4 separate regions of the Homo sapiens genome follow, and all the other regions are linked to region 1. Evidence: promoter capture Hi-C in 16 types of primary human blood cells and fetal thymus (Javierre and others, 2016). All regions are on one chromosome and are shown on one strand. Each heading gives the region's core, a stretch centred on a gene start or on the middle of the fragment in contact. The rest is flanking DNA. Distances are from core to core; before and after follow the strand shown. Region 1 holds the start of HEATR6 (HEAT repeat containing 6). Region 2 holds the start of USP32 (ubiquitin specific peptidase 32). Region 3 overlaps VMP1 (vacuole membrane protein 1). Region 4 overlaps LOC105371850 (a long non-coding RNA gene).

Region 1 (2,939 bases), core at 318-2,817:
CTGAAGAACAGCAAGTTTTAAATGGCTGCACACAGGAACAAAAGGGGGAGTAACAGGAGAGAATGGAAGTTTTGTTGCAAAAGTATCCAATTACACAAATACAGCAAAAGTCCCCGACTACTGCCTTAATCTCACTCTGCTTCCTAATGACATACACTATTATTCTGTAGTCAATTCTTTCAGACCTTTTACTTTGCATATATAAACACACATATTTTAAAATCCCTCCTCCAGCTTCATACTGATCTCATTCTGTATGAATTGTCCTGCAACTTGCTTCAACCATTTACCAATACGTATTGAAGACTTTTCCAAAGCAGATTTTAAAGTTTATGAACAATTTTTTTTCCTCCTAAAGAAAAGATCATTCTGGCATTGGAGGAATGACTGGCTTGGAGAGGAGCTAGACAGGAGGCAGGAGATCAGTCAGAGGGGATCAGCGAACAGTCCAGGCATAAGTCGCCTTGCCTGAGGTCTAAGGCACTCGCTATGGGAATAGACAGGAGGGGATGAACTGAGAAATATATATGAGACACATTCTGAAATACCTGAGTTGGTCAGGATCTGGGATGAAGGAGGGAAGAACCAGTGTTTGTGTCTGGTGTGACTTGGTGGATGATGCATGTGTGTTGGAAGGTGGGATGGACTGGGGACGGGAATGCGTGTTTGGAGCTAATGAATTTCATCTTTAGGAACTGTCTAGTTTGAGATGCCTGTGCAAGCAGGCAACTTGCACCACTTCCCTCTTTCCTACGTAGGGCCAGAAGGCCATGGTGTCAACAGTTCAGAGAATTCATTAATTTAAGGCCTGATGTGTGTAAGATTACTCAGAAAGACGGCAGAGGGGAGGAGCTAGTGTGTAGGAACAGAAAACATAGGGGCTTTGTGGCAGAGTTTTGTATACTGTATTTTTACGAGCTTCAGTATTTTCATTAGCAAACAAGCCCTAATACTACGCAAGTTCTAAGATTCCCACGTGGTCCGTGTACCATGTACGCAATAAACAGTAGTAATGCATTTTGTCAACCAAGTGTTCTGGGTGCACAGAGAGGGAGTGAAGGAGGGTGCGGGCGGATGGAAAGTTGGTATCAGAGAGGAAACCCGAGGCATTATCAGAGCAGGAGTCGTCAAGTTGGGTTTTGAATGACTCGAGCGTGCCAAGCACTGCAGGGTCTTCCAAATGGAGAACTAAGAATGTGCCAAGGTTGGAGGGGGCACGCCATCCTGAAACTAAATCATCAGGCGCGAGAGTGGGAAGATCAGGGAAAGGCAGGCAGAGGCCACCAGCTGGGTTCCCGGAGGGGTGGGGCCGGGGCCGGGGCCAGCAGGGCGCGCCGCCTACCTCCGGGGCCACGCCACTGCCCTCGCTGTAGTTCTCGGAGATGAGCTGATCGAAGAGCAGGTGGATCTCGGTGCGGGCGGAGCTGCTGTCATCCGGGCGCAGGGCGCAGAGCCTGGCAGACAAGAGGCGAAACCCATTGCCTCGCTCAGGGATTGCTTCCCGCGGTGCCTCCCGCGGCTGCACGGAAGGCCACGAACCGACAACTTGCACAGCAGCCATCTTTTCTACGGGCGGGGGGGGTGGGTGGGGTGATCCCAGGGAAATACTTCCGGGACATCCTCCCGTTCCGCGCGCTCTAGTTCCGAAAGTACCTTTTTTAGACCGGACTGGGGCTCAGAGGGGTTTCCATGACTACGGGACTCCTCCGACCGGTACCCTGCAGATGCTTGTCAGAAATTGGCTTGGAGGCCGGGCTCGGTGGCTGACGCCTGTAATCCCAGCACTTTGGGAGGCCGAGGCGGGCGGATCACGAGGTCAGAAGATCGAGACCATCCTAGCTAACACGGTGAAACCCCGTCTCTACTAAAAATACAAAAAAAAAAAAAAAAAAAAAATTAGCCGGGAGTGGTGGCGGGCGCCTGTTGTCCCAGCTACTCGGGAGGCTGAGGCAGGAGAATGGCGTGAACCCGGGAGGCAGGGCTTGCAATGAGCCAAGATCGCGCCACTGCACTCCAGCCTGGGCGACAGAGCGAGACTCCGTCTCAGAAAAAAAAAAAAAGAAAGAAATTGGCTTGGAGATTTTTCGCCGGCCACTCCTTCTTGAGCCCTGACTGAAAAGTGAGTTCTCAATTTGTGCTTCCAGAAAGTTTGTCCTCCCAGAGTTTGTTCCTGGACAGGGCTGAAGGTACTCTGTTCCGTACTAGAGTTTCAGATTCGGGCTGGAGTTGGAGAGGGTATGCTGTGGATGGCAGTAGCAGAAACCGCTAGTTCTAAGGCACCCTTCTACTCTTCTAAAATCTTTCCCCAGGCACAAAACCACCCGGAATAAAGGCTACGTTCCCTAGCATTCCTTGCAGTTGGCTGTGGCTCTGTGATTGCAATCTGGTCAGTGGAATATAAGGCAGCTTTCCCTACTTAAGTGACAGCTGGCTGTACTCTTGGTTCCTTTTTCTCCCTTTTTCCCAGTGTGAATCCTCTCATGGATCATGAGGCACCTCGCCCCACTAGAAGAGTAATTTTGGAGTTTAACTGAATCATGTAAAATATAATCTGCCTAAGAGTGACCGGGTTGAAATGAGACACCCCAAGATTTTCTGAAACCTTGAAGTCAAGAAGCTGGAGAATAAAATGGCCATTTAAAAATCTGTGATCACTTTTCAGTCATCCAGGAAGTGAAGGCTTGACTTTCACAGTTGGGCAGATTGGGAAAACCATCTCTAGGGCCTTTGAGTTATGCAAATATAAAGCAAATCCTCACCCTTGGCCCTTAGGGAAAACCTTGAAGTCACCTGAATGTATGTTTTATCCTGAGAACAAAACATTTCTGTTCAGCAGTGAAAATTGGGGGTATGCTTTAGCAGAGGTAGTTTTCTGAAGACTTTGGGCTTGGGGAGAAATGTTAATTTTTTTGTTTGGATTTAGATTCCGTTGTGCTGGT
Region 2 (2,918 bases), core at 142-2,641, 310 kb after region 1:
TATCCTTAGCTACTAAAACCACCTGGAGCATGGCTGATTTCTTGACTTGGAAACCTGTTAACAATAATGCCTAGCTCCTAATCTTCTTAATGTTTTTTCACTTCTTACCAAGAATATCCATTAAATGTCTAAAAGAAATACAAGCATACACAGATCTACACACACTGAAATCCCAGTCATGAAAAATTAAGACATTCCGGCCATAAACTGTGCAACAAGACACTTCCAGTTAGTGTGTGCTTTAGTGATCATGGACAGCGGTATCAGAGTGAGTGGTAGGGGGTTGGGGCTGCCAACAATATACTGTGCCTCAGAGCCAATAAGCAGCAGGCCGGGACTGGCAGCCAGGCCAGTCTCTAAAGGGAGATTTAACACAATATCTGAATGCTGGACTTCCCAATGCCATTTCATGGAGAGGGATGGAGCGAGAACTGGGCATCAAGTGCAGTCAAAGGCTTTGGTCAACGTCGGAGGAGATGAAACCTAAGACAAGGTCTGGTGCCAACGCCAGCTGTCCAGTCTCATCTCACCTCAAACACAACTTCATTTCAGATCGTTCTTATCAAAGTCAGCCGCTCAAACGGTGAAGGGTGGCAGAAGCGGATGGCCACAGCCCTCAAGAGACAGGCATAGGCTCTGGGAAAAGGCAGGGACTCCCCAGATACGAAGGGGCTTCCAGTAGCAGAGAGGAGCGCTTTGCAGCCGCCTCCTCGTCCCCTTCCAGCTAAGGCTGTTAGGAACGAGGTTAGGATGTTATTTGAGGTTTTTATGAAGGAATGATAGGAGAAAATGGCAATGAAGGATGAGGGGGGCTGGATGGGCTGGAGCCGCCCAAGAAAACGGGGAGAGGACTTCCCTGGACACATCCAGGATCACAACGCCACCAGCGAGCACGGGCACTGCCCTGCCAGCGCCGATCCCCCTCTCTCAGGACAAGCCCCTTTCCAAACGGCCCTAATTCCCAAACGCTGCTTCCCACCCGACCTCTCTCCTCCACCACACTCCCCAAGGCCGGCCGCCTTTCCCTTCCGCCTCAGGCGCCCCACGCCCTCAATCTCCCCTCTCCCTCCCGGTTACCCACCCTCCAGGCTGCCCGTCGCGGGCCTCCCAGGCAGCTCGCCCAGACCCCTCCCCCCTCACCTCTCCTCAGCGCCTCCTCGTAGCTGAGGAATCCGATCCGTGACTCCTTGGCACCCATGCTCCCCTCATCCCCTCGGCGGGGGGTCGGAGCCTGATCTCGCCCCCACCCCCCTCCCGCCTTCTCCTCGGCGTCCCTGGGTGACGGTGACGGTGTCGGCGTCCCCCGCCCCCACCTCCCCCCACACTAACAAGTGCGGCTTCTGCCCCGGCGGCTCCTCCCGGTCGCCGCCACCGCCTCCATGCCGGATCACGTGACTCTTCCGCCCCGCCCCCTTCCCCTGCCTCCTACTCCGCCCTTCTCTCTCCTCTCTCTCCTCCCTCTCCTTCCCTCCTCACGCCCTCTTGCCACTTCCGCCCCCTCCCGCCAGCTCCGCCGAGGGTCACGGGACCCGAGGCCAGACACTGTTCCCGGTAACGGCCGCCCAGGGCCGCACGCTCCGCCCCTCCCCAAGCTAACCGCGCGCAGGAGCGCCGGGGAGGGGGACGCATCTCCGCACGTAACGCATCGTCCCATCTTCCCGCCAATCGCAGCCGCGCGCCCCGCCCGGGCGCCTCCGCTGGCGACGGGGGGTGGTGACTTCCGGGGCGCTTGAGGACGACCCCCCCCGCCCCCGCGCCCACATGTTCTGGCGTTCGGCGGGTGGGGTCCGAGCAGCTGACGGTTAGTGTGGCAGTTGCCGGGACCTAACATGGAAGACCGCAGAATCTTAGGGAATGGGGTTCTGAGGGATGCGGCATATGGCTCAGAAGAGAAAGGAGTGGGTAGGCAGGGAGCTCCCAACCTTAGGGACGTCTTTGACTGGGAGGGCGTTGTGAAAGGAAAGGAGAATCTCAAGGCTTTCCTGTGACAAAAGAATGCTCACACCTAGCGGGAGATCCCTGAGGAAAGTGGACCTTGTTAACGAAGTGGATCTGCCTTTTCGGGTCATCTCGCCTGCCCGGCCCACCTTCTCCTCCTGACCATGCCTCTTGTACACATTCTCTGGAAAGCGCTGTGCAAAAGGCTTATCCTCTCTCCCAGAGTTTCTCCCCGAGAAACATGAGGGCTACAAGGCTTAGCGTGGAGTCGTTTTAATCTGTGGTAAAATATACGTAACAAAATGTACCATTTTCACAATTTCTAAGTGAGTTCAGTGGCGTTAAGAACATTGATATTGTTTTGCATCCATTGCCACGTCCCATTTCCCACCGTTTTTCATCTTGCAAAAGGGAAACTCTGTGCCTATTAAACGGTAACTCCCCAATCCCCCTCCCACTGGTCCGTGGCAACCGCTGTCCTACTATCAATTTCACTACTCTTAAGTATTTCCTCTGAGTGGAACTCTGCAGACTTTCTCTTTTGTGACTGGCTTATTTCACTTGGCATCGTGCCTTCCAGGTTCATGGTGTGGCAGCATGTGACTGACTCTCCCACTCCACCTCTCCATTTCCCAAAGAATGAAAAGCAGGGATGTGAACAGGTATTTGTGCCCCCGTGTTTATAGCAGCATTATTCACGAGAGCCAAAAGGTGAACACAACCTATAGGAAACCATAAATGGAGAAACCAAATGGGGTGTATATGTACAGTGGAATTATTATTTAGTTCCTTGATTTTCAACTCTTATTTAGTTTGCGTCTTCAACCTAAAAGTCACGGAATAAAGCTTCTGGAAAAGGAAGCAATATTGAAAAAGTAACCATTTGGATTAGATTGGACCCAAGGTGCCGGTTAGGTAATTTAGGGCCAGGGAAAGGTTATTAGTTCCTAAAACCAACAGATTCTAATATACCCTGCTAG
Region 3 (3,050 bases), core at 82-2,581, 340 kb before region 1:
TAGTAGAATAACACTACATTCACTAGTAGAGGTTGAGGGAGAGAGGAAAAGAAGGAATTACAGGTTACAGGATACTTTTCTGTTCGTGTCTAGACCTGTCCTCATATTCCTTGGGAAAACCAGATTAAGAAACTCATTTGTAGCATTTAATTAATTTGGAAGCCTCTGAAAAGCAACCCAGATAGCAGACTCTGCTGAATGTCAAAAGAGATTGAAATTATGGCTCATGCCTGTAATTCCAGCATTTTGAGAAGCCAAGGCGGGCTGATCACTTGAGCCTAGGAGTTCAAGTCCAGCCTGGGCAACACATCTCTACATCTCTATAAAAAATACAAAAATTAGTCGGGTGTGGTGGCACAGGACTGTTAGTCTCAGCTATTCAGGAGGCTGAAGCGAGAGGATGGCTTGAGCCCAGGAGATAGGGGCTGCAGTGAGCTATGATTGCACCATGCACTCCAACCTGGGTGACAAAGTGAGACCTTGTCTCAAAAAAAAAATTATTTTAAATGCCCTAAAATTAAGTATATATAAAACAGCCAGATCTGCAATTTATGAATATATAATCCTGGCTATAGTGTGGGAGATAGATTGAAGGTGGAAGAGAAGAGGAGCAGTTAGGATTATCCTTATGAGAGACACAAGCTTCCCAGGAGGTGATAGGAAGAATGGATAGCAAGGAGTATTTATAAAGAGAACTTGTAGAGAGAAGTCAAGCAAAATGAAGACAAAAGATGGTATAGATCTTTGATGTTTTAAAAGATTGCTTGGAATGGAAATAGCATTTGGGATGAAAAAGGACAAATATGACAGAAATTTTAGAAGTACAATCAAGAGTGTGGTACGTTATTATGGAGGAAGAAGGAATGAAAGATAACTCTTGGATTTCCTTTTGTTTTGTTTTAATATATTTTATGTGTATTTAAGGTATATAACATGATGTTATAAGATATAAATATATATAGTAAAATGGTTACTATTGTGGAAAAAATTAACATATTCTTTATCTCATGTAGTTACCCATTTTTACGTTTTTACTCCTCATGGCAAGAACAGCTATAATTTACTAGTTTAGCAAAAACTCTGAATACAACACATTGTTATTAACTATAGTCCTCATAGTGTATGTAGAGTACATTGGATCTTTTGACTTGTTCTGCCTGTATATTTGCTACTTTGTATCCTTTGATCTACATCTCCTCCCATCTCTATCTCTATAAATGAGATCTTGCAACATTTTTCTGTGTAGTTACTGGTTTTTTACTGAGTGACTGGGTAGATTTTGATGCCATTAACTGTATAGAAAACAGTTATTTGTTCACTTGTTCACATTTATTACATATTATGTGAAAGTATGTGAAAAGAGAAATTTAAAGGTATACTGTAATTATGCTGCAAGTTAAATGAGATCCTCACTTTATCCAGGTAGGTTGCTGGTGCCCGTAGTTGAATGGAAAGAGAAGGGAAATTTATAAAGGACTGAGAACGCCTACAAAACAAAACAAAACAAAAAATTATTAGAGCTGGGCACAGTGGCTCATTCCTGTGCTCCCAGTGCTTTGGGAGGCCAAGGCAGGAGGATCGCTTGAGACCACAGGTTCAAGAGCAGACCTAGCAAGACCCCGTTTCTGAAAAACACATAAATAAATAAAAGATAAATAAATTAGCTGGGTGTGGTGGCATGTGCCTGTGGTCCTAGCTCCTTGGGAGGCTAAGGAGGGAGGATTGCTTGAGCCCAGAAGCTCAAGGTCACAGTGAACTGTGATTGCACCACTGCACTTTAACCTGGGAAACAGAGCAAAACCCTGTCTCAAAAACAATAATAATAATAATAATAATAATAATAATAATAGGCTTTATTGTTCAGTGTAGTTTTAGGTTTACAGAAAAATTGAGCAGAAAAGACAGAGGATTCTAATACACCAGGGGTCCCTAATCCCCAGGCCACAGACCAGTACTGGTCCCTGGCCTGTTAGGAACCAGGCCACACAGCAGTAGGTGAGCAGTGGGCTGGCAAGCAAGTGAAGCTTCATCTGTATTTGCAGCCGCTCCCCATCACTCGAATTACTGCCTGAGCTCTACCTCCTGTTAGATCAGCAGCAGCATCAGATTCTCATAGGAGCTCGAACCTTATTGTGAACTGCACATACGAGGGATCTAGCTTGCATGCTCTTTATGAAAATCTAATGCCTGATAATCTGAGGTGGAACAGTTTCATCCCAAAACCATCCCCCACCTCAGGTCTGTGGAAAACTTGTCTTCCACGAAACTGGTTCCTGGTGCCCAAAAGGTTGGGGACCACTGCCATAACACCTTTCCCCACCACACAGTTTCCTCTACTATTAACATATTGTATTAGTGTAATTTATTTGTTACAATTGAGGAACCAATATTGATACATTATTAACTAAAACCCATAGTTTATGGGATCTACTCTGTGTTATACAGGTCTATGGGTTTTGACAAATGCATAATGTCATGTATATACCTATAGTATCATACAGAATAGTTTCACTGTCTTAAAAATGCCCTGTGCTTCACCTGTTTTTTCCACTTCCCCACCTGCCCCCAAACCTTTCACAACCACTGATCTTTTTACTGTTTCTATAGTTTTGCCTTTTCCAGAAGACACTATAGTTGGAATTATAGGGTATGATCCTTTTCTGACCGACCTCTTTCACTTTGCAATATACATTTAAGGTTTTTCCTTGTCTTTTTCTGGTGTGATACCTCATTTCTTTTCATCACTATTTAATAATATTCCTCTGTATGGATGTACCACCCGTTTGTGTATCCATTCACTTACTGAAGGATATCTTGTTTGTTCCTGTTTGGCAATTATTTTTAAAAAACTGCTCTCTCTCTCTCTCTCTCTCTATATATATATATGCTATATTATATATATGCTATATATATGCTATATTTATAAATACATATATTTTCTGATAGATCCTGAGTATAATATATACTCTATTGATAGAACATGAGTATTAATTACTAATATATAGAAAAAACTTGGCTTTTTTAAGGTTGTTTACTAACCTTATATCCTG
Region 4 (2,822 bases), core at 39-2,538, 330 kb after region 1:
CAGGAGATTGAGACCATCTTGGCTAACACGGTGAAACCCTGTCTCTACTAAAAATACAAAAAATTAGCTGGGCGTGGTGGCAGGCACCTGTAGTCCCAGCTACTCAGGAGGCTGAGGCAGGAGAATGGTGTGAACCTGGGAGGCGGAGCTTGCAGTGAGCCGAGATTGCACCACTGCACGCCAGCCTGGGCCACAGAGTGAAACACTGTCTCAAAAAATAAATAAAGAAAGAAAGAACTAGAGAAGCAAGAGCAAACAAAAACAAATGCAGTCTATACTATATAATGCTATATAAATCACAAGAGTCAAAAGCACATAACATAGGTTAGAAATAGAAACTGTCGGCTGGGTGCGGTGGCTCACGCCTATAATCTCAGCACTTTGGGAGGCTGAGGTGGGGGGATCACAAGGTCAAGAGATTGAGACCATCCTAGCCAACATGGTGAAGCCCCGTTTCTACTAAAAATACAAAAATTAGCCAGGCATGGTGGCACGTGCCTGTAGTCCCAGCTACTTAGGAGACCAGCCTGGACAACATAATGAGACCTTCACCTCTACAAAAAAAAAAAAGTTTTTAAAGTTAGCCAGCCAGGCCAGGCACGGTGGCTCACACCTGTAATCTCAGCACTTTGGGAGGCCGAGGCAGGCGGATCACCTGAGGTTGGGAGTTCAAGACCAGCCTGACCAACATGGAGAAACCCTGTCTCTGCTAAAAATACAAAATTAGCAGAGCATGGTGCATGCCTGTAATCCCAGCTATTTGGGGGCTGAGGCAGGAGAATCGCTTGAACCCAGGAGGTGGAGGTTGCGGTGAGCCGAGATTGCCCGATTGCACTCCAGCCTGGGCAATAAAAGCAAAACTGTCTCAAAAATAAATAAATAAATAAATAAATAAATAAATAAATAATTAGCCAGCCATGGTGGTGCATGCCTGCAGTCCCAGCTACTCAGGAGGCTGAGGTGGGAGGATCACTTGAGCCCAGGAGTCAAGGCTTCAGTTTGAGCCGTGATTGTACCATTACACTCTAGCCTCGGTGACAAAGTGAGAGTCTGTCACTATTTTTTAAATTTAATTTTAATTTGTATTTATTTATTTGTTTTAGAGAGAGAGGTCTCACTATGTTCCCCTGGCTGGTCTCAAACTAATGGGCTCAAGTGATCCTCCCACCTCAGCCTCCAGAGTAGCTGAGATTACAGGCATGCACCACCATGTACAGCTCCTATTCTACTTTCTGTCTCTATGAATTTGCCTATTTTAGATATTTCATATAAGTGGAATTATATATTTGTTCATTTGTGTCTCGCTTATTTCACTTAGTAGAGTTTTTAAGATTCATTTATGTTGTAGTATATATGAGGATTTCATTCTTTCTGTGGTTGAATAATATTCTATTGCATGCATATACCACATTTTTTTATCCATTCATCTATTGATGGACACTTGGGTTGTTTCCACTTTTTGGCTATTGTGAACAATGCTGCTGTGAACATTGGTATATAAGTATCTGTTTGAGTCCCTGCATTCAATATAATTTAATATTTAATAATGCTTCTGTTTAGCAAACAGCTGGCAAAATTGCAAAAACTTAATAATCAGCTCTGATGAGCCTGTTAGAGCCAGCTCTAGCACAATATCAGAGAATCTGTAATTTACCTGACTGGACCCAACAAGCCCAACTTGGAATTCAAGCTCACCACACCGGTATTTTCCAAATTTGCCCGATGATGATAATTGCCTAGGATATTTATGAAAATACTGATCCCCAAGCCAGGTGTGGTGGCTCATGCCTATAATCCCAGCACTTTGGGAGGCCAAGACAGAGAAGATTGCTTGAGCCCAGGAGTTTGAGACCAGCCTGGGCAACATGGTGAAATCCCATCTCTACAAAAAATACAAAAATTGGCCGGGTATGTGATGTGAACCTGTAGTCCCAGCTACTAGTGGGGAATGGGGGCGGTGGGGCGGGGGAGCAGGTGGCTGAGGCAGGAAGATCACCTGAGTCTGAGAGGTCAAGGCTTCAGTGAGCTATGATTGCACCACTGCACTCCAGCTTGGGTGACAGAGTGATACCCTGTTTCAAAAAAAAAAAAAAAAATAGTGATTTCCAGACCCTCTTGGGACATTCTGATTCTGAAGATCTAAGGCAAGGTGATTTTTCTGTCTGAAAAACTCTAATATTAGTCCCCAGTCTCACCAAATCTGGGCCTGAAGGGAGGGAGTGGGGTACAAATACGGTGCCCTGGAAGAAAGGTGGTGAGAGTGAGTCCTTTGGGGAGAAATTGCTGCAAAATTTGAGATGCATTTTTTTCCTCTCCAAAATCATTCCCAGCTCCAACATTCATTGACATTCATTCAGTTCTCTCCTGCTTATCTCCCTGAATTCTGTCTTAGCAAAGAAAACCTTCCAGAAAGAGCCAAGAGGAAATCATTAGGCCCCAGCAATTTTGACAAGATCACAGACGCTTGCATATCATTAGACTATTTAGAAACACGCTCTAAAGTTCCGAGGTTGCCATTCTGCAGTGTTATTTTGATACCCTGACAAGATATTTTTAGAGCACATGAAGCCCAAATTAAAACATTGCTACAGGAAAAAAAAAGTGAAATCCAACCAGGGGTCTATTAAATGGAAAACTACAGTAAATATCAGATAAGAGTGAAGAAAATAGTACAAAACATTTTTGAAAACTATTTTGGGAGAAGCAGGAGTTGGAGAGATGCTCATGACTTATGTGCAGAGATGTGTTCTGTATCCTGCCAGTGGGGGAGGGAAAGACCTTATCCCTGTGTTATAGAACTGGGGTCCACTCACCTGGCCCAG

Evidence for each region. Contacts are between HindIII fragments. The CHiCAGO score rates a contact against its expected background, and 5 or more counts as called.
Region 2: a contact is called between the fragment with the promoter of USP32 here and the fragment with the promoter of HEATR6 in region 1, in 2 of 17 cell types (total B cells and M1 macrophages). The highest score is 6.2, in total B cells.
Region 3: a contact is called between a fragment that was not itself captured here and the fragment with the promoter of HEATR6 in region 1, in 1 of 17 cell types (M1 macrophages). The highest score is 5.3, in M1 macrophages.
Region 4: a contact is called between a fragment that was not itself captured here and the fragment with the promoter of HEATR6 in region 1, in 1 of 17 cell types (total B cells). The highest score is 5.3, in total B cells.

What each region holds. Positions count from the first base shown.
Region 1 is chr17:60,077,354-60,080,292 of GRCh38, forward strand. It overlaps HEATR6 (HEAT repeat containing 6), which reads right to left and starts at 1,568. Exons shown (of 20, transcript NM_022070.5): 1 at 1,343-1,568. The coding sequence starts at 1,561. HEATR6-DT (HEATR6 divergent transcript) reads left to right here and starts at 1,956. Exons shown (of 2, transcript NR_135648.1): 1 at 1,956-2,119. RefSeq lists a silencer at 1,225-1,354. The HindIII fragment of the contact is 13,067 bases long and covers 1-2,939 here.
Region 2 is chr17:60,390,742-60,393,659 of GRCh38, forward strand. It overlaps USP32 (ubiquitin specific peptidase 32), which reads right to left and starts at 1,392. Exons shown (of 34, transcript NM_032582.4): 1 at 1,141-1,392. The coding sequence starts at 1,198. RefSeq lists an enhancer at 1,107-1,948 and silencers at 1,123-1,182, 1,213-1,432, 1,543-1,862. The HindIII fragment of the contact is 3,969 bases long and covers 1-2,782 here.
Region 3 is chr17:59,740,708-59,743,757 of GRCh38, forward strand. The region is part of intron 5 of VMP1 (vacuole membrane protein 1); the gene reads left to right. Among named protein-coding and RNA genes, the nearest start is that of VMP1, 35 kb to the left of the region's middle. The HindIII fragment of the contact is 1,382 bases long and covers 641-2,022 here.
Region 4 is chr17:60,410,456-60,413,277 of GRCh38, forward strand. The region is part of intron 2 of LOC105371850 (a long non-coding RNA gene); the gene reads right to left. It also overlaps a transcript of USP32 not described here. Among named protein-coding and RNA genes, the nearest start is that of CHCT1, 11 kb to the right of the region's middle. The HindIII fragment of the contact is 3,591 bases long and covers 1-2,822 here.